Linked DNA regions of Homo sapiens: regions 2, 3 and 4 are each linked to region 1. The links are contacts of gene promoters, found by promoter capture Hi-C in human tissues and cell types (Jung and others, 2019). All regions are on one chromosome and are shown on one strand. Each heading gives the region's core, a stretch centred on a gene start or on the middle of the fragment in contact. The rest is flanking DNA. Distances are from core to core; before and after follow the strand shown.

The links. Contacts are between HindIII fragments. The study calls those that stand out against the background at their distance.
Region 2: a contact is called between the fragment with the promoter of LSS here and the fragment with the promoter of PCBP3 in region 1, in 2 of the 25 tissues and cell types used here (hippocampus and spleen).
Region 3: the fragment with the promoter of DIP2A here is called in contact with the fragment with the promoter of PCBP3 in region 1 in 2 of the 25 tissues and cell types used here (H1 embryonic stem cells and mesenchymal stem cells).
Region 4: the fragment with the promoter of SPATC1L here is called in contact with the fragment with the promoter of PCBP3 in region 1 in 1 of the 25 tissues and cell types used here (IMR-90 fibroblasts).

Annotation. Positions count from the first base shown.
Region 1 is chr21:45,641,100-45,647,959 of GRCh38, reverse strand. It overlaps PCBP3 (poly(rC) binding protein 3), which reads right to left and starts at 4,235. Exons shown (of 18, transcript NM_001384156.1): 1 at 4,092-4,235. RefSeq lists silencers at 3,581-3,720, 4,041-5,030. The HindIII fragment of the contact is 13,348 bases long and covers 1-6,860 here.
Region 2 is chr21:46,224,877-46,231,170 of GRCh38, reverse strand. It overlaps LSS (lanosterol synthase), which reads left to right and starts at 2,397. Exons shown (of 22, transcript NM_002340.6): 1 at 2,397-2,439; 2 at 2,572-2,737; 3 at 3,481-3,619. The coding sequence starts at 2,426. It overlaps MCM3AP-AS1 (MCM3AP antisense RNA 1), which reads right to left and starts at 1,940. Exons shown (of 4, transcript NR_110565.1): 1 at 1,905-1,940; 2 at 644-844. RefSeq lists silencers at 1,593-2,032, 2,093-2,352, 2,363-2,532, 2,593-2,642 and enhancers at 2,062-2,356, 3,073-3,142. The HindIII fragment of the contact is 14,795 bases long and covers 1-6,294 here.
Region 3 is chr21:46,457,176-46,463,907 of GRCh38, reverse strand. It overlaps DIP2A (disco interacting protein 2 homolog A), which reads right to left and starts at 5,017. Exons shown (of 38, transcript NM_015151.4): 1 at 4,686-5,017. The coding sequence starts at 4,776. It overlaps LOC124905046 (a long non-coding RNA gene), which reads left to right and starts at 5,195. Exons shown (of 2, transcript XR_007067915.1): 1 at 5,195-5,581. DIP2A-IT1 (DIP2A intronic transcript 1) reads right to left here and starts at 1,437. Exons shown (of 4, transcript NR_046400.1): 1 at 1,386-1,437; 2 at 1,145-1,196; 3 at 680-842. RefSeq lists enhancers at 3,824-3,893, 5,664-5,803 and silencers at 4,614-4,683, 4,874-5,423. The HindIII fragment of the contact is 5,308 bases long and covers 730-6,037 here.
Region 4 is chr21:46,180,139-46,185,812 of GRCh38, reverse strand. It overlaps SPATC1L (spermatogenesis and centriole associated 1 like), which reads left to right and starts at 1,354. Exons shown (of 5, transcript NM_001142854.2): 1 at 1,354-1,457; 2 at 2,039-3,189. The coding sequence starts at 2,997. LOC124905045 (a long non-coding RNA gene) reads right to left here and starts at 1,266. Exons shown (of 2, transcript XR_007067914.1): 1 at 626-1,266. RefSeq lists enhancers at 2,085-2,688, 2,689-3,292, 5,109-5,674. The HindIII fragment of the contact is 12,071 bases long and covers 1-4,882 here.

The DNA.
Region 1 (6,860 bases), core at 2,986-5,485:
TCTCTCTTCTACTTTTAAGAACCCTTGTGATTACTCAGAGCCCACCCAGATAATCCAGGATAATCTCCCTATTTTAAAATCAGCTGATTAGCAACCTCATTCCATCTGCTGCCTTAACTCCCCTGCCATGTAACATAACATAGTCCTGAGATTAGGATGTGGACAGCTTTATGAGCCATTATTCTACCTACCATGCAACTCCTCCTCCACTTTCACCCCCCTCCATCTCCAACAAAGTTCCAACCATTTCACAATGCCCCTAACACTTCCAGCAGGGTCCCAACTCCTTCACTATGCTTCCATACCTCCAGCCTCCACACCACTACACACTCTGTACTCCGGTTATTCCAACCTTCCAGTCTTTTTCTAATAAATGTATACCCAATCCATGCCCAATTATAACTCATGCCCTAGGGTCCAGCCCAAAGGCCACCTCCTCTCTAAAGCTTTCCCTGATTCTCGGCCCAAATGAATTGCCCCTCAACACGTTTGCCTGGTTTTCTATGTATCCCAACTGCAGCACTGAGTATGGCCCCCTGTAATTATCTGTTTACATGTTCCTTCCTCAATCCGAACAGGTGAGCCCTTCAATAAGAACTCTGTCTCATTCCCTCATGGGTTCCCAGATCATAGCATAGGAAATGGCAAACAGTAGGGAATCAGGGAGTATTTCTGAAGCTTGGATGAGGCAGAAGGAAGTTTTCCTGAGTTTCTGTCAACAAAAGAGATGTCAAAGAGTAACCTGGGTTAAGTGTACAACAAATGGGGCCACAGAATCAGTTCAGATGATCATAACAAAAAGCACCTCAACAATCCACTGCTTAGCTTGATATACAACTTACTACCATGTGACATCTCTGTACCACAAGTGACATCTATCTTTTTTGTTTTTTTTTTACTGCTAACCTGTGGGGCAATTCTAAAGTAACTGACAACATTAACCTCAAGAGAAAGAAAAGATTCATGTAAAATGATTTACAAAGATGTCCTCAATATTAGAGAAAAGAGAGTAGATATAGCTCTAACACAACAGGAATGCCTGGCAACCACTCAGTAGCCCAACACATAAACAGATCCCATCGCCAGGAAAGGCTGAGAACCAACATGCTGGAGAATGCAAAACATGCTAGAGTCAACCCTTTTGGGAACAAGTTGCCCCTACATAGATATATGCCTACAGATGTATGTCTATATTGTAATAAAGGTGCTATGATTAGAATATCCCCTCCAAAACTCATGCTGAAATGTAATCCTCAATGCAGAAGCAGTATTGAGAGGTGGGACCTTTAAGAGGTGATTGGATCAAGAGGGCTCTGCCCTCATAAAATGGATTAATCCATTCATGGGTTAATGGATTAGTGGGTTGTCATGGGAGTGGAGCTGGTGGCTTTGGCCCCCGGACCTTAGACTTCTCAGCCTCCATGACTATAAGAAATAAATTCCTTTGCTTTGTAAATTACCTAGTTTCAGGTATTCTGTTATAAGCAAAAGAAAACAAACTAAAACAAACTGGTACTTTCTTAAAGGAATGGTTGTTAAGAAAACAGGGTTTCATTTAATGTCAGTGATTTGTTACTTGATGCCCATACTCAAGCAACAAAACTCCCACCTAGAGAGACAGTGAAGACTAAGCAAAGGAAATTGAATGTTGTAGCATAATTATCCTCCTTAAAAAGAAGAATAAAATGGCGTGTTTTCAAGACACGCTCCCATTCAACATAATTTCCCTGATCAAATTTTATTTAATAATATGAATTCTGAAATTAATTTTAAAGTACACTGGAAAGGAAGTTTGAGCTCCCCCTGCCCCAAAACACACACACACACACACACACACACACACACACACACAGAGAGAGAGAGAGAGAGAGAGAGAAAGAGAGAGAGAGAGAGAGAGAGAGAGAGAAACAGGTGACACGGATTCAGCACCATGGACAGCGGGCCCATGACGCCTTGCCTCTGAGTCACTGCCACCAGGGATGAGAGCTGAGACATCAGAGCTGCCCCAAAATCTACAGCATTTATTCTAATGTTTAAGTTGGGGCAATTCCAATACATGAGCAAGTATTTTCCTTGGTTATGGCCCAAAGCACTGCCTTCTTCACTGAGAGGATACACAACTTACATCTACTAAAATCTGTTTCAGTGTTCACCTTTACAATAAAGCCATGAGACTTTTGTAAAAATAGAAATGATTCTGCCATTGACACAGGAACTGAAATAATCAAAACTGATACACAGAATCCAAATCTGAATAGCTAGATTGGTTCAAGAAGCTCGTGAGGCTTTTTCAAATTTATAAATGCAGCATGCTGTCAGCCTCCTCAGAACAATAGGGTAAAGAATAGCTTCTTCAAAACAGCTAGCAAAATACAACTATATGTTGAACTTTTTCGCATAAATAGCTAAAAACGTAACCACAAAGCTGTGTGGGTTTTCCCCCACCATGAGCATTATAAAGATATCTGGGAAAGTGATGTTTTGAGGTCCAAAAGCACCACTAATCAGCAGCACCTGGGGCAACGCCAGCCAAAAAGCCCTGAATTCTAGACAGAGTCCATTTTTTTCAGTTATAAAGACCCCATTTATCATCAAAACTTTTTCAAAACCTTATAATATTATCAACTAAGAAAATACGTGAAGCTACGTAAGTTCTAAACCATTCGTAATGAACTTGCACTGTATAAACAACAGCATCTACATACAAGCAAAAAAAAAAAATACTGCTCGAAAGTGAGACATCAGTTAGTCGGTCACTGCACTTGTTAGTTTTAAGGCCCCATGTTTTCTGACAGATCTCCAAGCCTGAAAACACCAGAACTATTTCTGCTTCTGTCGTGTGATGATCAATTAGGTCCTTTCAGATCTTGCAAATGATCCCTTTAGAGTGCCACTGTTCTACAAACACTCCTTTTGGGGCCAAAATAGGTATCTCTGACACGCTTTAAGATGATGAATTATTCTTGAATATGAGGAGGACTGGGAGTTAGTTCTCTTAAATAGGGAAGCACCCTTGCACACTCCTTTGGGATCCACATCTGAGAAAGTCCAAAGAAAAGAAAAAGGGCAACAGTTTGCCCCTGAAAGTGAGTTCAATTTCAGAGGGATATGTGAGGGCCTGTGCCAGAGGAATATTTTTGAAATGGGGGGAGTCTATAAGTTGCCCAGTCTAATCTCTAAAGGCCTCTCCGCAAGGCCCTGCTGCTCAAGATTCCTTCTGGCGAATCCCACTCTACAAACACTCAACAACTAAGAGTGCTACTGGCTCACATGGAGGGCTAACAAGACCTGCAAATCCAGGCTGCTCTGAAGGACGGTGGAAGATAACCAACCCCGAGCCACGAGATTTAGGACCCGACTTTTGGTTAACTTTCAAATTTCTTATGCCAGTAATATACTTCAGAGTGGCGCGGAGGGAATTGGAAAACATCACCAGGCAAAAAAAAGAAAAAAACTCTTTCACGAAACAAGACTTCCAATTAGAACACGTGTGGGGACAATAAGAAACACGTTCTAACCACCCCCAAAATTAAAATAAAACACAGCGAGCAACAAGAGAGACCTGCGCGCGCCCCACCGCCCGCGCGCGGCTCTCCGCAGGGTCACCGAGGGGTGAGGCCGCGCTCTCCCGGCGGCCGTCCAGGGGGAGGAGGCCCCGCGCCCCGCCCCGCCGCCCTCCAGCCGCCGCGGCCGCTCCGGGGTGTTCCCCAGATCTCTTCTCAATCAAGAGATGAAATTTGTGCCGTTTTGAAACTGAAGCCTCAAGTAGTCCAGACGTTTTCTGACCCACATCCGAGACGTTCTCGGCTTCCCGCCGCAACTTCCGAATTTGGGGAGGGGGCGGAGGCGGGCGGGCCAGGCCTGGCGACCGCACCTTGAGGGAGCGCGAGTCCCCTCGCTGCCCCGGGCCGCCGCAGGCGCCGGCGGCGGTCGGGGACGGCGCGACCCAGCCCGGGACCCCCGCCCGCCCCGGCTCGGGCGAAGTTTGCCGCGGCCCGGGGTCGCCCCGTCACTCGGCCTCCGTCGGGGACTGGGTCCCCGTAACCCGCAAGGGCGCCCGACCCCGACCCCGCCCGCCACCGCTCACTCACCTGCCCTGCGCCGGACGGCGAGCCCGCGGGCCGGCGGGGAGAGGCCGGGAGGCCCGGGCGGGGTCGGGGCGAGGCGGGTGAGGAGGCGGCGGCGGAGCCTAAGTCAGCCGAAGCGGCGGCGACCGCGGCTGAGGCGGCTGAGGCGGCGGTCGCGGCTTCAGGCGCTCCAGCCCGAGCGCTGCGCGCGGCGCGGGCCCGCCCCTCTGCGCCGCTAACCAATCTAGCGCCGCGCGCCGCCGCCGGCCCCGCCCCCGCCCAAGGGCAGGCTCGCGAAAGCGGGCGCCGCGGGCCAATGAAAGGGCGGAACATCAACCGGCGCGGCCAATCCGAGCCCGGAAAGTTCTCTGGAAAAAGCCAACTCCAGTCAAAGGGGCGGGGGTGGGGCTGGGGGCGGGGCGGGGACCTGGCCCAATGACGCGCGGGGCGGGGCCGAGCATTGGGCGGGGAGGAGGCGGGGCCTCGAACGGGCGGGCCGGTCACTAGTAGTGGGCGGGGTCGTAGGCGGGACATTGAGCGGGCGGGGCAAGAATCGGGGCGGGGGCCTAATGAAGTGAAGCGGGGAGGGGACGGGCAGTGGGAGGGGCAGGTCACATTTGGGGTGGGGTGGGGGCGGGGCAGGGGCGGGGCTGAGTACGGGAGGCCAGGCCGGGGAGAGGCCTAAGTCGGGGCGGGCGGGAGAAGGGCAAGAGCAGTGGGCGGGGCTCGGGGGTTAGGGGATTAGTGCCCTTGCTGGGGCGGGGCCCAGGCTTGGGGCGGGCCTGTGGTGGGCAGGGCCGTGGATGGGCGGGGCGAGCCTTCGTGGGCGGGCCAGGCCTGTGGTGGGCGGGGCGGGCCGTTGGTGAGCGAGACCTTGGTGGACGGGGCGGATCCGCGGTGGGCGGGGATTTGGCGGGCGGGCGGGTGGGCCCGACGGGACGGGAATGGCCGTTGAATTCCCAGCCGTGCCGCAACCCCGAAGGTCCCCCTGCAGCGCCCGCTTCCCGTTCTCTGTGGGCCTGGCCCCGGCCCGGAGGCTGGGGCCGCAGCGCCCGGCGGGCAGGGGCCCCGAGCGGCTCGTGAGCCTGTGCCCAGACGCTGCCCGCCCCGCGCTGGTCCCGCCGCCCTGTCCCCTCCGCCCGCCCGGCGTTCGCGTGCCGTGGCCTGGGGCGGGGCGTTGCTGGGCCCCGGGGGCTGCAGGGGGAGGCCGCCCTTTCTCTGGGCTGGCTCCGGGCTGTTCCGCTCCGCGCCGTTTTCCCGGTACTTCCCGCGGAGCCCGCCTCGCTGTGCGTCCCCGCCCGGGCGTTTCTTCCGCGGCGCTGAGCGCCCGCCCCGGCCTCGGGCAAGGGCAGCCGGACGCCCCGAGGACCAGGGCGCTGGGGCCGAGGCGCGTCCTCCGCAGTCGCCGCGCCTGGGCCCCGTTTCCCCGCGGGTCCTCGCCGGGGTGGGAGGCGCCTCTTGGCGTCCGTGGGGAGCTGGGTGTGGGGGGCGGCAGGGCAGGAGGTGGGGGGGCTGAGCCGGAGAAACGTCCTCGCCCCGCCCGAGACCTCAGACACCCCAGAACCTCGGGCCGGCAGCCAGCTGCAGGAATCGCGCCCTAAAGCCTGGGGTCCGCGCCCGCCCGCCTCCCGCGAGCGCCAGGGGCTGCCGGGTCACCGGGATGCAGCCTCGAGGCGACGTCACAGACCCCACGCGGCCCCCCGAGCACCCCCGGAGCCGGCGCGGGGACAGGGGTTCGGGATGGACGGAACCCACGCAGGGAACGTTCCGGGCCGTCTACGCCAGGCTCAGGGCGGCCGTCAGCTGGGGTTGGAGGTGGGTCAGGAAGAGATGTGTCCTTTTGTCTCCAAATGTCGCTTGTGTCATTAAAAGACAACCTTAAAATAGAAGAAAAAAAAAAAAAAAAAGCCTGGGCTGGCGTGAGGAGGGGCCGTCCGCGAGCTACGGAGGCTGAGTCGGCGGGGAAGGGAATGTGGAGTGGGGCGGGGGGGGCGCTTGGCGAACCCGTGCTTTGGACGCGCTTGGCGGTTTCGGGGAGAATGAGAATGGAGGGGAGGGAGGCCAAGGCCTGCAGCCTGGTGGGAATGCTGGGAAGGACGCTGTGGACAGGACCTTACTGGAAATGAACCAGAAGGGAAGGTGGGCCGGGCGCGGTGGCTCGCCCCTTAATCCCAACGCTTTGGGAGGCCGAGGCAGAAGGATCGCTTGAGCCCAGGCGTTGGAGACCCGCATGGGAAACATCGTGAGACTCTGTTTTTAGAAAAGGAGGAGGAGAAGGGATACTGGGCGGCCTCTGCCACACCTGGACTCTGCGGGCAGGGGGCCAGAGGGACCCAGGGCTGCTGTGCTGGAGCTGGAGCTGGCGCGAGGGTCTGGGCAGAGCACTGTCAGCGCCCCCAGATTACAGGCTGCCAGCCTCCCCCGGTCCTCTGCGGGAGCCTGCGGCCTCAGCTGCCTGCCCCGCCGGCTGAAAGACACAGTTAGTCATTAGGAAAGTAATGATAGTGTTTTCAGGGCAGCGTGTTAGACCCTAAAGACTTTCTATTATTTGCAGTTCCTGCCAACCCTGTGAAGAAAAAAAGCAGCTCATCTCTCACGCCCCGCCTCTTGACACACGCTGATCCGGCCTGGTTCTGGGTTTTCCCGGAGCCTGCAGGGCAGCCCCGCCCCAGGCGGCAGCAGCTGGGCCTGCAGCGTGTCCCTCATGGTGCCCGGCCTCCAGGTCCAGAGTTTCCTGCCTCCCTGAGCTCGGGGTGCGCTGTCTCCACCCTCTCATGGCCGTCAGGGTGCTGG
Region 2 (6,294 bases), core at 1,148-3,647, 590 kb before region 1:
GAGGCTGAAGTGGGAGGATTCCTTGTGGCCAGGAGTTTGAGACCATCCTGGGCAACATAGCGAGACCCCGTGTCTCTACCAAACTTTAAAAAAATCAGCCAGGTGTGGTGGCACACGCCTGTAGTCCCAGCTATTCAGGAGGCTGAGCCCGGAAGATCACTTAGCCCTGGAATTTGAGGCTGCAGTGAGCTAATGATTGTGCCACTGCATTCCCACCTGGGTGACAGACTGAGATCCTGTCACTAAATAAATAAAAGACACCTCTATTTTAGTAAATGACCACCACCATATACCCAGTTGTTGAGGCCAAAATCCTCAGAGCCTTCTGTATCTGGCTTAATGAATAAGCTGGATGCAGTAGTATGTAAGCAGATAGGAACAGTGTTTTTTCTCATGACTGCCCCTAGAAGCTTAACTGTGTCAATTCTCAGACGTAGTTTACAGCTTTTTCTTTTCTTTCAGACATTAAAAAGAGCGGATTATTTTACTCATAAAAAGTCCAGTCCATTAAGATATCAAAACTCAAACTCTTATCCAGTTGAAACCTCTTCCCTCACCTAGCTTTGCCAGGTTCAGTGTGAGATTCCATCCAGGCTGAAGCCCCTTATCCCTATTCTTCATGTTTCTACATGGAGGAACTTACCTGGAGAAAAACTTCCAGCCTCTTTCTGCTTCCAGAGAAGTAGAGTGACTCATTTGATTGAATTTCAGAGAACAGATAGGGTGGAGTGTGCTCAGGCTCCTCTGGGTACTCTTTCTGGGGTCTGTGGGTTGACTGGAGGGGTGTCTTCTGGTGGGCACTCAATTGCATAGTGCTTGGTGAGGCAGTTTCATGGCCTAGAGGCTGGGGGATATGTTTGTCTGACTTAACGGGTGATTTAGTAGCTTGCCCTCTTGCTTGCAGATTTAAGCCTTGTCCTTCAAGCTAGGTTTTTAATTTGTGGCAAAGCTGATATTTTGATACCCACCCATCTTATTGCTGTGTCTTTTTCATCCGTTTCTGAACTGGGATAGGAAGAGGTGATTATCCTTGATTGTCTAAAACCCCGCTATTCCACTGTGGGGAAGGTGCCTGTGGGTATTCTTTTGTCCACTCTCTCTTCCAACTTTCTCCTCCGGCTTGCTGTGGCTCACCGCCCCTTCGAAGTTAGGCTGGGGGTAGGAATTGAGGAGTGGGTGCCGAAATGCTCACTAGGCTGGGGCAGTTGTAACTGGATGTCAGGGCTTCTGTGGGCCAGGTGAAGACATGCTGGGGTCTTCTGTGGGTCCTTGACCTGACTTACGGACCACTGGCTGCAGCCTCCAGACGTCAGCCATGTTTCCAACAGTCAGACGCCCCCTGCCCTGTTGCGCCCGGCTGTCCCTTCCAAGTTCGGTCACTCGCTCTGCCTCCATCTTCCTCTTCCCTCTGCTGCTAAGGCTTTTCACCTTTAATTTCTCCTGGGGCCACCCCCAACTCCAGCGACCCCGTGAGCAGCTGAGGCTCTACCGCGCTCGGTCCTGGCCAGCGACGCAGCCCTTCCCTGGCGGGGCTCCAGGGCTTCTGGCCCCTGTGGTCCGCCAGGTGTGGGGGCCCACGGCCTCACCGCGCCTACCCCACTCCCCCCGGCGAAGCTACGCGGCGCTCAGCTTCCCAGGGACGCCGGCGGCGCCCTCGGCTCCTCCGCTCCGCCCCGCCCTCCCCCTGGTCTCGCACTGGAGCCGACGGCCCGCGCCCACCTCACCTCAGGGCGGCCTCCCGCCCCCACCCCCGGCCCCGGCGTCCGGGCAAATCCTGCAGCGCGAGAGCAATTCCCTGCCACCCGACCTTCGCACTCGCTGTCGCTCGCTCGAGCCTCGCTCCCCACGTCCTTCCTTCCGACCCGCGGCTGGACCCTCCTCACAAATTTCTCAGAGAGGCTCACCTCAAAGCGCGGCGCACGAGGCCGGGCTCCCGGGACGCAAGCCTCTAGAGGGCGCGCGAGAGGCCCCGCCCCCGCCCTTCGGCCCCACCCACCAGCCCCGCCCCCACCCGCACCCACCAGGCCCCGCCCCCACCTCCCCACCCACCAGCCCCGCCCCCACCTCCCCACCCACCAGCCCCGCCCCTCATGCCCCGCCAATAAGGCCCCACCCGCCTCCCCCGTCCCGTCGCCTTCACCCACCATCCCCGCTCCCTCAGGCCCCGCCCCACGCCGCATGGGGCACCAAGCGCTCCACCACTGTGGTCGCCTGGCACACCCCGGGGTCACGCTCGCGGCGCTCTGATTGGTTGCGTGGGCGTCGGCCCACCTAAGCCTGAGCGCCTGCCGAGGCCTGCGCCTGCGTAGTGCGCGCGGGAGGGGCGGGAGGGGCGGGAGGGGCGGGAGGGGCGGGGCTGGGCGGCAGGTCCCGGGTGCGGACATCTGGCAGCTGGCAGTGGGCGGCGTAGAGCACTGCAGCAGCAATGACGGAGGGCACGTGAGTCCCCTCGCCCCGGGCTCCTGACGAATGCGGGGTGGTCCTAGGTGCTGAGGAGAGCGCGACTGGGGCAGTGGGCCGGCGGCCGGCGTTGGGGCGGGGCCTGGGTCGCTGATGGCCGGTGGTCCTCAGGTGTCTGCGGCGCCGAGGGGGCCCCTACAAGACCGAGCCCGCCACCGACCTCGGCCGCTGGCGACTCAACTGCGAGAGGGGCCGGCAGACGTGGACCTACCTGCAGGACGAGCGCGCCGGCCGCGAGCAGACCGGCCTGGAAGCCTACGCCCTGGGGCTGGACACCGTAAGTTGCTTCCGCGGAGCGTCAGCGAGCTCGGGACCCTGAGGGGTGAGCCGTGAGGAGCACGTTTTCTCTCAGAAAGGCGGGTGGGAGGACCCGGCCAGCGACGCCCATCCCCAAGGCGAGCGCCCACGGGAACTGCGTTCGCGGGCCCCTCCGCTTCAGCCCCTTCATCTCTAAACCACGCATAGGAGACTCCTAATGTTTTATTTTTTAGCACCTTATTTTGAGATAATTTTTGACTTATAGGAGAGTTGCAAAGATAGTTGTAACTTTGTTTTTATTCACAAAAAGTGTTTGGATCCACTGTCTTAGTTGTGTGCATTGTAAGAGATTTTGGTCGTCAGAGTCTGCAGTGTAAACAGGGTCTCCTGCCGAGCCCCGGCCACCGAGGGAAAGGCTGTGCCGCCCCTTGGGCCCTCTTTGAGAGGCCCGAGTCCCAGGCCCAGGTCGGCACCCGTGCCCCACCCTACAGTCTGGGTGCCTGGTTTATTCCAGACATCTTGGAGAAGTTGTGAAGAATACATGACTGGCAAATAAAGCAACGAAAATGTGCAGCTGTTCTTTTACTTTGCTGAGGTGTGATGCTCTCATCAAAGAGTTTCAGACTTTTGATGGAAACAGCTGAAACTTTTAAAGTAATTTACATTCACTGTTTTGACTTGGGCTGTATGTGAAGAGGGTTCCTCTGGCCGGGCAACAGTCCCGTCAGCTATCTCTTTTTTTTTTTTTCGATCTCTTTGCAGAAGAATTACTTTAAGGACTTGCCCAAAGCCCACACCGCCTTTGAGGGGGCTCTGAACGGGATGACATTTTACGTGGGGCTGCAGGCTGAGGATGGGCACTGGACGGGTGATTATGGTGGCCCACTTTTCCTCCTGCCAGGTAGGAGTATGCTGCCCCAGCCTGATGGTATGGCCACCCTGGATCACCCTTGGGATCCTGGCCCAGCCTGGTCTAGGGTTTTGATGAAGCAGGTGAAAATCCAGGGGCTCACAAGAAAAGGGCTGGCAAACTCTGCCCTATGTCAGAGTCGTCCTGCTATTGGTCTAGGGGATCAGCTAGCCTTGCCAGTGTAGGGTGACAGGCTCTCTGATAAGAGAAGCAAGTGGTTCTCTAGGGCTCTGTGTTGCCTTGAGGGAGGAGGAAGGTGGGCTTTGAAGTCTCAGTACAGGATGGGATGGACATTCCAGGTGGAAGGCCCAGCCTATGCCAAGGGGCTGTAGGTGGGCAGAGTGGTGGGTGGGGAGCTGATATCTGCTGTGAACTTCCTCGGGGCTATTGCAGGAGAGCTTCAGGTTCAGGCTGGTGAGTAGGAGGAGCATAGCAGTTGGACTGCCTGGGTATTGAACTGATTTGGCTACACAAGACTATTTTGCATCCTGGGAGTGTTTCTCTACAGAAATCCTCAGCCTTGTAAAATGGGAAATTCCCTCCTATGAATTTATGCAATAGGACTTTTTTCCCTAGTGACTTGTAATCACATTGTTTCAATGACGTGAATTCCTACATAAATAGGTTTTGTTTCTGTGATAACTCTTACTGATACATCATTTTCTTTTACTACGCTGACTTTGTAATAGATAGAAAGTCCTTATATACCTTTGTTGCCTTTCTTTTTAAAACATCTCTTACCTGTGTCTATTCATTTACTCATCCAAATTGCCTTTATCCTGATTTTGTCCCAGACTTGAAATGAAGTTGCAATAGGCTTATATGTTAGTTTGGGAAGAGTTGGCCTTTAACGTTAAAAACAGTTCCATGGTGTTTACTGTAGGCCAAGCCCTGCTCAAGGCCTGTTCTTCTTTTAGTCCTTAGAATAAGCCTAATGAGATACATTAGAAAGCTGAGGCACATTTATTCCAGGTAACCAGACTAGCAGGAGGAGCACTGGGATCCCCATCTCTGCTTTGACTTCTAGCCCTGCTGCCACCTGGACTGTACAGCATTGAGTTTTTCTGTCCTGGGATTTGAGGGCCTGTCCTTAGGGGAAGTCAAGGTGCTCTTCTTCCCTTGGCCCCATCAGGGCCTGTTTAGACTGTTCTCAGGGCTCGTGGTAAGGCAATGACATAGAGTTGGTCAGGAGATGGGTCAGCCCCACTTTGCCTCTGTAGCCTGACCTGTGACAGGATTGGAATCAGGTTTGGTCATGTGCACAGTGTCAGGCATGCAGTGGTGCTTGGTCAGTGGGGATTACTGTGTTGTTTGTTCTTGCTGCTTTGGCTCTGGGCTTAGCTGGCTGGGACCCTTCCTGTGGGCTGGCTGTGAGTTGGAGTTTTTTTGTATTTTTTTTTTTTTTTTGAGACAGCGTTCGCTCTTGTTCCCCAGGCTGGAGTGCAATGGCACAATTTTGGCTCGTTGCAGCCTCTGCCTCCTGGGTCCAAGTGATTCTCCTGCCTCAGCCTCCTGTAGGGTCCAGCCCCACAGGGTCGGTAGGTTTTTCTCCCTGTGTGCGGAGATGAGAGATTGTAGAAATAAAGACACAAGACAGAGAGATGAAAGAAAAGACAGCTGGGCCCGGGGGACCACTACCACCAAGACGTGGAAACCGGTAGTGGCCCTGAATGCCAGGCTGCGCTGATATTTATTGGATACAAGACAAAGGGGCAGGGTAAGGAGTGTGAGCCATCTCCAATGATAGGTAAGGTCACATGGGTCACGTGTCCACTGGACAGTGGGCTCTTCCCTGCCTGGCAGCCGAGGCAGAGAGTGGGAGAGAGAGAGAGAGAGACAGCTTATGCCATTATTTCTGCATATCAGAGACTTTTAGTACTTTCACTAATTTTGCTACTGTTATCTAAAAGGCAGAGCCAGGTGTACAGGGTGGAACATGAAAGTGGACTAGGAGCGTGACCACTGAAGCACAGCATCACAGGGAGATGGTTAGGCCTCCGGATAACTGCGGGTGGGCCTGACTGATGTCAGGCCGTCCACAAGAGGTGGAGGAGTAGAGTCTTCTCTAAACTCCCCCGGGGAAAGGGAGATTCCCTTTCCCGGTATGCTAAGTAGCGGGTGTTTTTCCTTGACACTGACGCTACCGCTAGACCACGGTTGGGTCCGCTTGGCAACGGGCCTCTTCCCAGATGCTGGCGTTACCGCTAGACCAAGGAGCCCTCTAGTGGCCTTGTCCGGGCTTAACAGAAGGCTCTCACTCTTGTCTTCTGGTCACTTCTCACTATGTCTCTTCAGCTCCTATCTCTGTATGGCCTGGTTTTTCCTAGGTTATGATTGTAGAGCGAGGATTATTATAATATTGGAATAAAGAGTAATTGCTACAAACTAATGATTAATGATATTCATATATAATCATATGTATGATCTAGATCTAGTATAACTCTTGTTGTTTTATATATTTTATTATACTGGAACAGCTCGTGCCCTCGGTCTCTTGCCTTGGCACCAAGGTGGCTTGCCACCCACAGCCTCTCGAGTAGCTGGGATTACAGCCATGTGCCACCATGCCTGGCTAATTTTTGTATTTTTGGTAGAGACAGGTTTTCACCTTGTTGGTCAGGCTGGTCTCGAACTCCTGACCTCGTGATCCCCCACCCCCCACCCCC
Region 3 (6,732 bases), core at 3,768-6,267, 820 kb before region 1:
TGAAATCCTGTCTCTACTAAAGATACAAAAAACTAGCCAGGCGTGATGGCGTGTGCCTGTAATCCCAGCTACTCAGGAGGCTAAGACAGGACAATTGCTTGAACCCGGGAGGTGGAGGCTGCAGTGAGCCGAGATCGCGCCACTGAACTCCAGACTGGGCAACAGAGTGAGACTCCGTCTCAAAATATACACACACACACACACACACACACACACACACACACACAAATATATCCCAGATTTTAGAAATTAAAGACAGTTAAAGAGGAAAAAAGCTTTGTGAGAGAAGTCTCTTCCTGTATACCCAGAGTTTTTTCCCCCTTTTCATTTTATTCCATCTAGACTAGAAGTCCTGCATTGTTAGAATATAAGAAATCAAGAAAAAGACTAAAGTTAAAGCTATGGAATAGACCTATTAACCAGAATAAAGTAATTGGAATGGGATAAAGGTAGCCTATTGTGTAGGAATTTCCTCTCTAACCCACTGTAGTCTATTAAAACAAAGAACAAAATACCACTGTCCATGTTTTTAAAGCAGTTCAGCAGCAATAGCTCCAAGACACGTACAGCACTGGTGTGCCAAAATCAGCTGTGAGGTGTGTCCAAGGTAATTTGTTACAGCAACAGGCAAAGCACAAAGGTTTGGGAATTAATTCTTTTTTAAATATCAAGGTTATACCTCTAATGATCTCACTTCCATCAATGAACATCCTGATAGGTTTTCAGGAACCACACATATGAATTCTTCTGTATGTGTTCATGATTGGGGGGCAGGGGGTCTAAGAAGAGTGGGGTTCCATGTACTTCTACTCTTCATCTTCATCTTAATCTGAAGCAGACTCCTAAGTCAAGAGGGCAAAACAGCCAGAAAAGTTAAGGAGCAAGAACACAGCTATGCCTTATTTCCCTCTTGGGAATCTATAACAGAAATTCAGCAAACTTGCCCTATGGAAATAAATCATAGCATTCTACCAGAACCTTCCCTCAGGGCCAACGCCAATCACTATGGTTGATGATGAGAATGCAGTGAGGATGCTGGAGAATAAGGCCAGGTGTGAGGTATGAAGAAAGGCAGAGGATACTTTCAACAGGCTGAGGGGAAGGCATGCAGGATTTTCTAGATTATTCAGGTATCACTCATTACCAGTTTCTGTTGAAGACAGCATCTTTGTCACTGTTAAGCTTCTTCTTCCAACCTACCAAGCACAGTGACAACTCTTAAGTTTTAGGCAATTTCTCACTTAGATAAATGTGAATGCTATAAAAAAGTTACACTATTTTGACAATATATAAAAATTATAACAATGAAACACTAATGTTGGTTGTTTTAGGACTATAACTCATTACTAATATCTCCCTTTAATTATATAAATAAAACACCTTACCAGTTTCGAAGCATTTTCACACACACTATGTGACTGAATCTTGACAATAAACCTGGAATGTCAATAAAGCTGGTATTCACCCCCTTTTACAGCTAACTAAACCCACGTTTAGAGACATTGTAATCCACAGGAGATTCACAGACACTTTACCAGATGCCCACCACTGTGTGAAGAAGCCAAAAATCTGCCTAAAACAAAGTCCTTACCAGTAAGCATCTCCAAATCCAACAGGGAGAGCCCACGTCAACAACAACCACCACATAAACTACATAAGCCAGCATTAACCTGTGGAAGCGCCCTGGAAGCAGGTCCACGTGTGACTGTGCCTAAGTAATCACTGACCTATTTTGGCCAAAAGAAAAGTGTCAGGCCAGTCTAGGAGCAGGGAAAGAAGCCAAGAAGCCAGAGCTTCCACCTCCTTGGCTGCCACTCTACTACTCTGTTCTCTGCTGTCTTCCCTTTAACACTTTTTTTTGAGACAAGGTCCCACTCTGTCTCCCAGGCTGGAATGCAGTGACACTATAAAGGCTCACAACCTCGTCAGGTGATCCTCCCACCTCGGCCCCTCAAGTAGCTGGGACTACAGGCACACACCACCATGCCCAGCCAATTTTTTTTTTTTTTTGGAAGAGGCAGGGTCTCCCTATGTTGCCTAGGCTGGTCTCAAACTCCTGGGCTCAAGTGATCCTCCTGCCTGGGCCTCCCAAAATGCAAACATAACAGGCCTAAGCCACCATTTCTGGGCTCAATACTTTTTTTGTTTACCCCCTTTCTCAGCTTAAGCTATTTTTCGAGGTTCCTCTCCATGTTACATAATCTTATACCTTTACTTACCTATACATCCCCTACATATCTCTAAGATGACAATAGCATAAATGGATCCAACAGATAGGAAACATTTCTTTCATTTAAGTACTTGTGTTCTGTCGCACAAATTATAAAGTTCTTTGAGGAAAGGATTCAATTGTCAATGCCTAGCAAGCACTCAAACACAACTACAACACAAAAAATTGAGGGAATAATGAATACATTGGAGCAGAAATTAGGAGCAATACGCAAAAATATGTTTGAAATGCACAGAATCTAAACTGCGTATATGTGATTTTCCCTAAAGAGCCTTAACAAATGCAGTACAGTAGATCCTGTCAAACCCATTCCTAATTTAAGTTTGTCAGACTGCCTAGGAGCATCTAATCACCAAGAATTCTCAAATCCATCCATTTCTTTCCTTTTTTTTTTTTTTTTTTTTTTGGTGAGAAGAGACAGGTTCTCGCTCTGTTGCCCAGGCTGGAGTGCTCCAGTGCTCAGGTGATCCTCCTGCCTCAGCCTCCCAAGTAGCTGGGACTACAGGTGCACACCACCATGCCCAGCTAATTTTTTTTAATACTGTAGAGACAGAGTCTTGCTATGTTACCCAAGCTGTTCTGAACTCCCGTCTCCAAGCCAACGTGGCCTCCCAAAGTGTTGGGATTACAAGCATGAGCCACTGTGTACTCAGCCTGTACTTCCATTTTTAAAAATGTGCCACAAGCCAGGCACGGTGGCTCATGCCTGTAATCCCAGCACTTTGGGAGGCCGAGGCAGGCGGACCACCTGAGGTCAGGAGTTTGAGACCAGCCTGGTCAACATGGTGATACCTTGCCTCTACTAAAAATACGAAAATTAGCTGGGCGTGGTGGCAAGCCCCTGTAATCCCAGCTACTCGGGAGGCTGAGGCAGAAGAATCATTTCTACCTGGGAGGCAGAGGTTGCAGTGAGCCGAGATCACGCCATTGCACTCCAGCCTGGGCAACAGAGCAAGACTCCGTCTCAAAAAAAAAAAATGTGCCACATGTCACAACATTGTTAAAAATCTGAATGCTGAATTCAAAATAGTTGCAAGTACATGTTGTATTATATGTAAAACAAGATCACAACAGCATCTACCTCCCTAAGGTTGGCAAGGATTAAATGACTTACTGTATGCTAGTGCATATTATTTAGATGTTTTGAGAAATAACTACCCCAGACCCAGCAAAATCTTATCAATCTGAAACTTAAATTAAGGATAATAAGATTATTTAAAAAATGGATTCTAAAAGCTGAAAATGCATTTAGATCTCAAAAACAGAGTAAGAATCAATTACATGCTTTTCTTCAAGGACTGCAAGTCCTTTCTGACACTGGAGAAGAACTTAACTCTTTCCCAAAGACAGCCAAAAGGAATATCAGGACACAGGCCTTGAAAGGGATAACATCCAAATGGGAAATGCCACCCACCACCTCTGAAGCCAGATTACTCCAGTCTATTTTTATCAACCAACCATTTATACGACTTTTTTTTTTTACTTTAAAAAATTCCATGAGGGGGCTAACAACTCCTAAGTGTTATGTGCTTTGCATATATTAAGGTATTTTAGCCTCATAACAATCCAAAATGGAAAGTGCTGGTATAACCCCACTTTATAGATAATAAAATGAGGCACAGGGTGCAGCTCCTAGAGTATGAGGCGCGCGGCAAGGGCTCCCAGCTCCAAGGGAAGTAGCTGCCTGCGGACAACGGGCGCAGTCATCCTGGTGAAGCCCAGACCAAGCCCAGACCTACAGCCTTGAGAAAAGCGGGGCTCACAGCTTGGGGCAAAAGTGGTCATTCCTCTCAAGATTCTCACACCTGTCCAAACGACCTAGTCAAAGCCAGTCCTTGGGGTCGGATCCCATTGGGGGAGCAGCTGGGGATAGGGAAAGGTCTCCAGAAGTTTGGCAGGCGTCCCGGGGTGAGGAGTAAGGGTCCCAGGTGTGAAGGGCCTGGGGGGAGGAGTCCTTGTATGGGGGAGGGGTCCTTGTATGAGAGGCGGGGCAGTGGTCCCTGGTTTGAGGGGCCGCGCGGGTGTCCCGGGGCTGAGGGTCGGGAGTCCGGAGGGGCAGCGCGGGGCTCCCAGGGTGAAGGGCGGGGTCCCCGGGGTGAGGGGCCGCGCGGGGTTCCGGGGGTGAGGGGCAGGAGGTCCCGGGGGTGAGGGGCGGGAGTTCCCGGGGGTAAGGGGCCGGGGTCTCGGGGCGAGGGGTCGTGCTGGGGTCCCACATGAGGGGCGGGGTCCTAGGGTTGAGGAACGGTGTCTCCGGGGCGAGGGGCGGGTTCCAGGGTAGAGGAACCGGGGTCCCGTTGAGGGGCAGAGGTCCCAGGGGCGAGGCCGCGTGGGGGTCCCGGGGGTGAAGGGCGGGGGTCCTGGAGTGAGGGGCCGCGCGGGGGTCCCGGAGTGAGGGGCTGCGCGGGGGACCGGGCTGAGGGCGGGTCGCGGGGGTTGAGGGCGGGGTCCGGCTCACCTTCCGACAGCTCCAGCTCCAGCTCAGCCAGGCTCTCCCGCACCTCGGCAGGCAGCGGCGCCGCCTCCAGCGGGCACCCGCGGTCAGCCATGGCCAGGCCGGCTAGCGTCCGGGCAGAGGCTGGAACCGGACCGGGCCTGGCGGCGGCAGCGCAAACCTCGGCTACGTAGCTCCCCTCAGGCCAACAACCTACATCCGCCAGGCGAGGAGCGGGAGGCGGCGGGACAGGGGCGCGGCCAGGACAGCAACGCACCCGCGCGGGCACGAGCGCGGATGGCTCCGCCGCGCCGCCGCTGCCCCGCGCGCTCCTGAGCGCCCGGCCGGCCCTACACGGGAGCGCGTGCGCGGCGGGAAGGGCGGGTAGCGAGCGCGCGTGCGCAGTGGGTCTCGGGCCCGCGCAGCCCTCCCGGCCCCGCCCAGCAACACCAGAGCCTCGCTTCCATTGGCCCCGAAGACGCGTCGATGCCGCTCCGGGCTCCCATTGGGAGAGGCGGGAGAGCGCCGCTCCCGACAGGCTCTGCGCTGGGCCTGCTTGAGGGTGGCGGGCTTGAGGCGGGCAGGCTGCTTAGTTGCGGCCCGAGGCGCCTAAGTGGGGATGACCAACCCGTGGGCGTTGGCGCTGACCCCTAGGCGCCGCTGGTGGCCCCGCGCGCGGCCCTCCGGCCAGCCCCGCCCCTCTCGGGGCTCCTCCTTGGTCCCCGCGCCATGGCGCGTCCGCGTTGACCGCTGTCTTCCCTTTCGGGCTGTGCTGATCGCGAACGCTGCGCAGTCCGTGGTGGCGTCGAGGCACCTTTCTCGTGCCTTTACCTGTGTTCACTCCTTTGCTTTAAAAAACAGCCCTAGAAGTACACATCGTTGGCCCCGAAGGAGCCCCAGCAGCCATGTCGGACCGCGAGGTGACCTTGGAGGGCGGGAGGACGGACGAGGGGCCTGGCGGAGCTAGACTGAGAGGGCGCCGCCGGCGTCCTGAAGGCCCTGCTCCCCGAATGTGTGGGAGTGTGTCTGACGGTGCGAGGGTGGCTGTGGCGGGGCCTGAGCAGCGTGTCCGTGTCCCGATGCCGCCCGCCTGTTACTGAGTTAGGCAGGAGTGCCCGAGTCTGGCGAACTTCAGCAGTTCTCGTTCCAGAGCTCCACACGAGGTTGGCCAAAGCTTTGCGGGACTTACATACCCTTCTTCCTCCGCCCAGTCCTGCTTCCTTCCCCTTCCTTTCACGGGTGTTGATACCATGTCAACATCCTCGTACCCCAAACTCAGTCGCAGCGTCTGCTTCTGGAGAAACCATTCTGCAGCATTAAAGCTGGTGAGAAGATGGGATTCGAGGCTGCATCACTCACCAGTGGTGAAGTAGGAGGGTGAACTAGTGAAATGGAATCCACGAGTGGGTGAAGTATCAGACATTTCATATATGGTGAACGTAGTAGATAAAAGGAAGGAAAGGGGGATTGGATAGCTATTGCTTAGTGCCAACCGAGACTCTTAAGAATAGTGGTCAGCTGAAGGCAAGCAACAAACAGTTGTAAGCCAGTGAATCTGTCCCGTTACATATAGAGAAGCTTCATTTACTGCAGCAGGTCAAAGACAAGAACCAGGCCCAGGAATTAACATCCCTGTTTGACTGAACTCCAAAAATAGCAAAACACCCAAACAAGGCAATACTCTTCCACTAAGTTTGGATCCCTGCTAAGAAAAGATGAGGCTGGGCACAGTGGCTCACACCTGTAATCCCAGCACTTTGGGAGGCCAAGGCGGGAAGATTGCTTGAGTTCAGGAGTTCAAGACCAGCTTGGGCAACATGACAAAACCCCATCTCTACTGAAAACACAAAAAATTAGCCGGGCATGGTGGCCACGGCTGTGGTCCCAGCTGCTTGGGAGGCTAAGGTGGGTGGATCACCTGAGCCCTGGAAGTCAGGGCTGTAGTGAGCTGTGACTGCACTCCAGCCTGGGCAACAGGAGTGAGACTCTGTCTTTTAAAAAAAAAAAAGAAAGAAAAGAAAAGCCCGTCATACATGGGTTGGAGATACCTGGGTAGATGCCTTCAAAGGTT
Region 4 (5,674 bases), core at 105-2,604, 540 kb before region 1:
CCATTTCCTGTGGTTGTGGAGCACGGGCATCAAGCTTTAACTACACCCCACAAATTCTAATGTCATGTTTTTATTCTCATTCAACTTGAAATATTCTCTGGTTTCCTTCGTGCTTTTGTCTTTTTCAAGACTTTTTTAAGAGGAGTTTTAGGTTCTTAGCAAAATTGAGAGGAAGATAGAGAGATTTCCCCACTCGCTGCCCCAACAAATGCACAGCCTCCCCTATTATCAACAAACTACCTGACAGCCACAATTGTCAGCAAAACGCACATGAGGGAAAAATATAAAATATAAGTAGCGTTGTATCTATTTAAGAAATTGATTTAGAAATTTAAAACTTTTCCAGAAGAAATCTAGTTCTAGATAGCTTCACAGATGAATTCTATCCGACGTTTAAGAAGGAACACCCAGAAAATGGCGCAGAATCTCTGCGGCTCATTTTAAAAGGCCAGTGTTCCAAAGCCAGACCGAGACATCACAAGAAAAGGAGATTCAGATCGACTTCCCCTGTGAGCATAAAAATACTTAAAATATTAATAAATTGAATCCAGCGCTATATTAAAAGGATAATGTGTCAAGACCAGAAAACTGTCAGAATGTTGATAGGTCCGTGGCTGGAGAGTACCTGACGTCAAGAGAAGGTTTCCTTGGAGCGGGAGGAAGACGGCATTTAAAATATGATGGGAGGAGCCAGGGCAGGAAAAGCCATTCAGGGCCCCGTCGGGCTCAGAGCGGGGGGCGCATCCGTGACTCATCCCTCGCTTCTCTCTCTGCCCTGCATCCTGGACGCCCTGCATGCCCTCGTCAGTGGGCTGTGGCTGGGCCCCCGTTGTCTTGATCTGAGGTGTGAGCCCTGTGGTGCAACACCAGGCTGGTTGGGTTGTGTCAGGAACGCTTGGGGTGTAGAAACCTCCTTTCTCCACAAAGCCTGACTCAAGACTTTCTCTCCTAGAAGCAACCTTCCCCTAATCTGGCCGCCCGGGCTGAATGAAGGTGGTGTTCTCCCAGGGGCATCTGCACCTGAGTGCCCTTGGTGGTCCTGAGTGCCCGTCACAGGGCTGGAGGTGTGGCCGGCCCACTGGGATGGTGGTGGTGGTGGGTGCCCATCACAGGGCTGGAGGTGTGGCCGGCCCACTGGGTTGGTGGTGGTGGGTGCCCGTCACAGGGCTGGAGGTGTGGCCGGCCCACTGGGTTGGTGGTGGTGGGTGCCCGTCACAGGGCTGGAGGTGTGGCCGGCCCACTGGGTTGGTGGTGGTGGGTGCCCGTCACAGGGCTGGAGGTGTGGCCGGCCCACTGGGTTGGTGGTGGTGGGTGCCCGTCACAGGGCTGGAGGTGTGGCCGGCCCACTGGGTTGTGCTTTCTGCCGTACGTCCCTTCCCATGAGGATGAGATGACCCATCTGTTGCATCCCGGCTGCTGATAAAACAAGACCCTCGGAGCCAAGAAACAACACTGAGGTGATTTACTTTCCCAAGTAATTGAAGCAGGGAGTCAGGGTGGGTTTCAAGTCGGTCGCACTGACTGAGGACAGACGCCTGCTCTAGCAGGGCCCCATGAGCCGCAGCCCTGTGTGACGGCCCGAGGGGCCGTGGCCATGGGTTGGGGGCGTCCTCAGTTACGTGCAGGCAGGAGCAGTGCAGTCAGGAACAATTGGTGTCTTAGACACGGGCGCTCGTGGTCTGAGGGGTGGACATGCACTGCTGGACCCTTCTCATCAGGGAGTGAGGTCAGTAGGTGGCCTCCAGCCCAGCCCTCAGGGCCACCCAGTGCTCCAAAGCATGTGGGGGCCATCGTGGGGCTGCCTCAGGCTGGTCTCCCCACCCTAGGCTGGTCTCCCCCGCAAGACTGGTCTCCTCCCCCAGGCTGGTCTCCCCCACAAGGCTGGTCTCCTCCCCCAGGCTGGTCTCCTCACCAGGCTGGTCTCCTCCCCCAGGCTGATCTCCCCGCCCAGGCTGGTCTCCCCCGCAGGCTGGTCTCCCCCGCAAGCTGGTCTCCTCCCCCAGGCTGGTCTCCTCACCAGGCTGGTCTCCTCCCCCAGGCTGATCTCCCCGCCCAGGCTGGTCTCCCCCGCAGGCTGGTCTCCCCCGCAAGCTGGTCTCCTCCCCCAGGCTGGTCTCCTCACCAGGCTGGTCTCCTCCCCCAGGCTGATCTCCCCGCCCAGGCTGGTCTCCCCCGCAGGCTGGTCTCCCCCACAAGGCTGGTCTCCTCCCCCAGGCTGGTCTCCTCACCAGGCTGGTCTCCTCCCCCAGGCTGATCTCCCCGCCCAGGCTGGTCTCCCCCGCAGGCTGGTCTCCCCCGCAAGCTGGTCTCCCCTGCAGGCTGGTCTCCTCCCCAGGCTGGTCTCCCCCGCAGACTGGTCTCCCCCACAAGCTGGTCTCCCCACCAGGCTGGTCTCCCCCACATGCTGGTCTCCTCCCACTGCCCTTGCCAGTCCCTCCCTCCTCAAGTGTGGGTGCCAAGGACGGACCCTGATGAACACCTGCACATCAGTTGCTGCCCTGGGTGCCAGGGTCCACAGGAAGCTGCACTGGGAACCCTGTGTCCTGGGCAGGTCCTATGGGAAGTGCAGCCCACATGTTACTCGGGTGAAGGCAGCGTCCCCACCCAGCTTGAGGACACCACACAGGGTGGACACCCGACCCTGGCTGGGCCGCTCAATGGGGAGTGGCTTGGACGCCCCTCTTGGAGTACAGTCGCTACATCCCGTAGCTGCCTAATGTCCTTGGCATTCTCGGGCCCTGGTCATAATGTGGGAGTGGCTGCCTGTGCACGCCACGGGCCTCCAGCTTCACTGCCTCAACGGGGCCATGAGCCATCGCGGGGGCAGGCAGGGTGCTGGGCACCTCATCACTAGGGCAGTGACATCACAAGGCGTGGAAGGCGGTGGTGGCTACGGAACTCCGTGCCTGGGCTGTTTCTGTGGTGCCTGCGGGCTCTGGGCTCCCACCTCCATGGGGCTGCAGGAGCCGTGAGGGACAAGGAGGGACGCACCCGCCATGGCTGAAGGCGGCGAGCTGATGAGCCGGCTCCTGAGCGAGAACGCGGACCTGAAGAAGCAGGTGCGCCTCCTGAAGGAGAATCAGATGCTGCGGCGGCTGCTCAGCCAGAGCTGCCAGGAGGGCGGCGGCCACGACCTGCTCCCACCCAGGGCGCATGCCTACCCTGAGGCCGGCTCCCCCGGGAGCGGAGGTGAGGCGCCGCCCAGCTCAGATGGCCTGGTAGATGAGGGGGTCGCGGGACGCCTGCTCCCCGGGAGTCGAGGGTGGCGGCCAGCTCCCTGATGCGGGAGGTCACGGGCACCTTTCACACCCTCAGGTCTGAGTAAAGCAAGACCAGGTGGTGGGTTCTGCTGTTGCCCTCAGGTGAGGCCCCTCCCCTCCCCTTCGGTCGCTGGCGAAGTGGGAGTGGTCAACCGCTGGCAGGTGGACTGGTCAGCTGCAGTCATGGAAGTGTCCCCATAGGGGTAGAGCAGGTGGCGCGCAGGCTTGTGGGCCTCCAGGGCCCCAGGCAGCTCTTCCAGGCTGGTCCTGGCTGGCAGTTTGCTCTGCTGCATGTGTCTCTTCTCCTGGGTCAGGGGCGAGGGGGGTGTCAGACCAGCCACACGAGTCCCATGAGTGCTGTGTCCCATCCACTCATGTCCCCGGCCAGAGCCAGGCCAGCCCCATGGTGGGAAGGTCCCACCCTGGGGAGGCCTCAGAGCCACCGGCCAGGGGAGCAGGTAGGGACAAGTGGGCGCCTGTCCCTGCGGGGCTGGGAGTGTGGAGCCATGATCCACTCACCACATAGCATTGACTCCGACCTTCTGTGGCTTTTTACTGAAAAAAGTATATATATAGGGTTTGGTCACTTTCTGCAAAGTAGTAGGCTTTATTCTAAAAGGTTTGGGAAAAACATTACCCGTTCCTGCATGTGATTTGGGGTGGGGCTGACAGATGTACCCTTGACTTTTTGTTGGGATGGTGGGCAGAGGACAGAGTCCCTGACCCAGCACTGCCTGGGATTCCCACGGCCAACCTCAGCTTCCCACCGGGCCGGGCCCGGAAAGGACGTGGTCAGCCTGCCTGGTCCTGGACGATGGAGCAGGCAGCCTCGCCAGTGCCCGTGAACACTGCTGTCTGCGAGCACGAGCCATGCCCGGGAGGCCAGCTCTGCCACTCACCAAGGGGCCGCTCCAGCACCTGTGCTGGGGGTGGGGGAGGTTGCTTCCTGAGTCCTTCTCAAACGCTGGCCACCACCCTCAGATGTGCACTCTGAGCAGGCGCAGTGTGCAGGAGGCACTCTCCGCAGCCAGGCCCCAGGCCCTGCTCGGAGCTCCATGGACAAGCCTGAGAGCGAGCGTGTCTGGAAGCAAAGAGGGGAATCCATGGCATCGTCCCCACACCTTTGGTCTCTGGTGACAGGCAGGGGCTCCTCGCAGGGAGCTGGGAGGAGAGCACCTCGCCAGGATGTGCGGGGACAGTGTGGCTGGGGAACCTGGCGCCTGGGGGCCATGCTGTGCGAGGCCCCAGGTTCTGCGTCTCCATCAGCGGCCACTGAGCCCCACGCTCACCACAGGGCGTTTGCTGGGCAGACCTGCGCTTACGGTGCTGGGCCACGTGCAGGGTCCCGTTCACAGCACTTGTGAGGCCCGGGCACTGTGGCTGCAAAAGGGCCCTTAATCTGTTTGGCGTGTGTGGACCGCCGCAGGCTGCGTGCCCCGGGCTGCGTTGCTGTCCTCCTCCTCAAGAAGGAATCACCCTGGGCCGGACCTCAGGGCTGGACAGAGTGCTGGTGCCTCCCCTGGCAGGAGAGGGGCAGACCCTCAACCCTTGCCCAGGCTGTGCAGTCCCCAGAGGGACCCTTGTCAGGGGCTGAGTCCGGGCGGGGTCTCCATGACCACGGCTGCTGCCCCTGCCCTTGGGTCATCTTGGCAAACCCAGGTCTTGCTGGACACGGGTCTTGGGAGGAGCCTCAACCTGAGGCCAGCAGGCCTTCCACAGAGGGCCTTGGAGCCCCCGCCACAGGGTGTGGGGCAGGCTCAGTGTGGCCCGGGCTGGCAGCGGGGAGGGGCCTGGACAAGACCACCCTCTAAACTCTGCCACTTGAGTGGCAGCGTGTGGTGCACCCTTAATGCTCTGGGCCTCAGCATGTGCTTGGGAATGTACCTGGGGCTGTGGGACGCTGCATTCAGGACCAGCCCTCAGCAGAACTGGGGTTGGGAAGACCAGCACTGAGCTTCTGCAAAAAAGGAGAAGTTTATAAACAAAGGAACCACCACCAGCAATGTCTGCATGTTGCCAAGACTTCATTAGCATCTGTGTTCAAAACAGGATGAGTAAAAACCTGCTTTTCTTACGGATTCAACAACACGTGCTCATGGTAAACTTATAAACGCCATGGAGGGTGCAACGTTTAAGCCTCAGGCCACGCCTCCGGCCCCCTCCGCAAAGGCAGCCACAATCAACGTTCTCTTGGGTTTTCTCTGGAACTTTAGTGGAGATCTGTGTGTCTGTCTGTGTATCTTTTTGGTCCACCTACACGGGATTGTGCTGTTCCGCAACTTGACTTTTCCCCCTTAACGATCCATTTCGCGGCATTCCCCACCAGTCCTTATCTGCAGATCTCCCCGGCACACTTGAACACTGGGCTCCTTCTGTGGGGGCCCCAGGCAGGCAGCACTGTTCCCAGTTCTCTG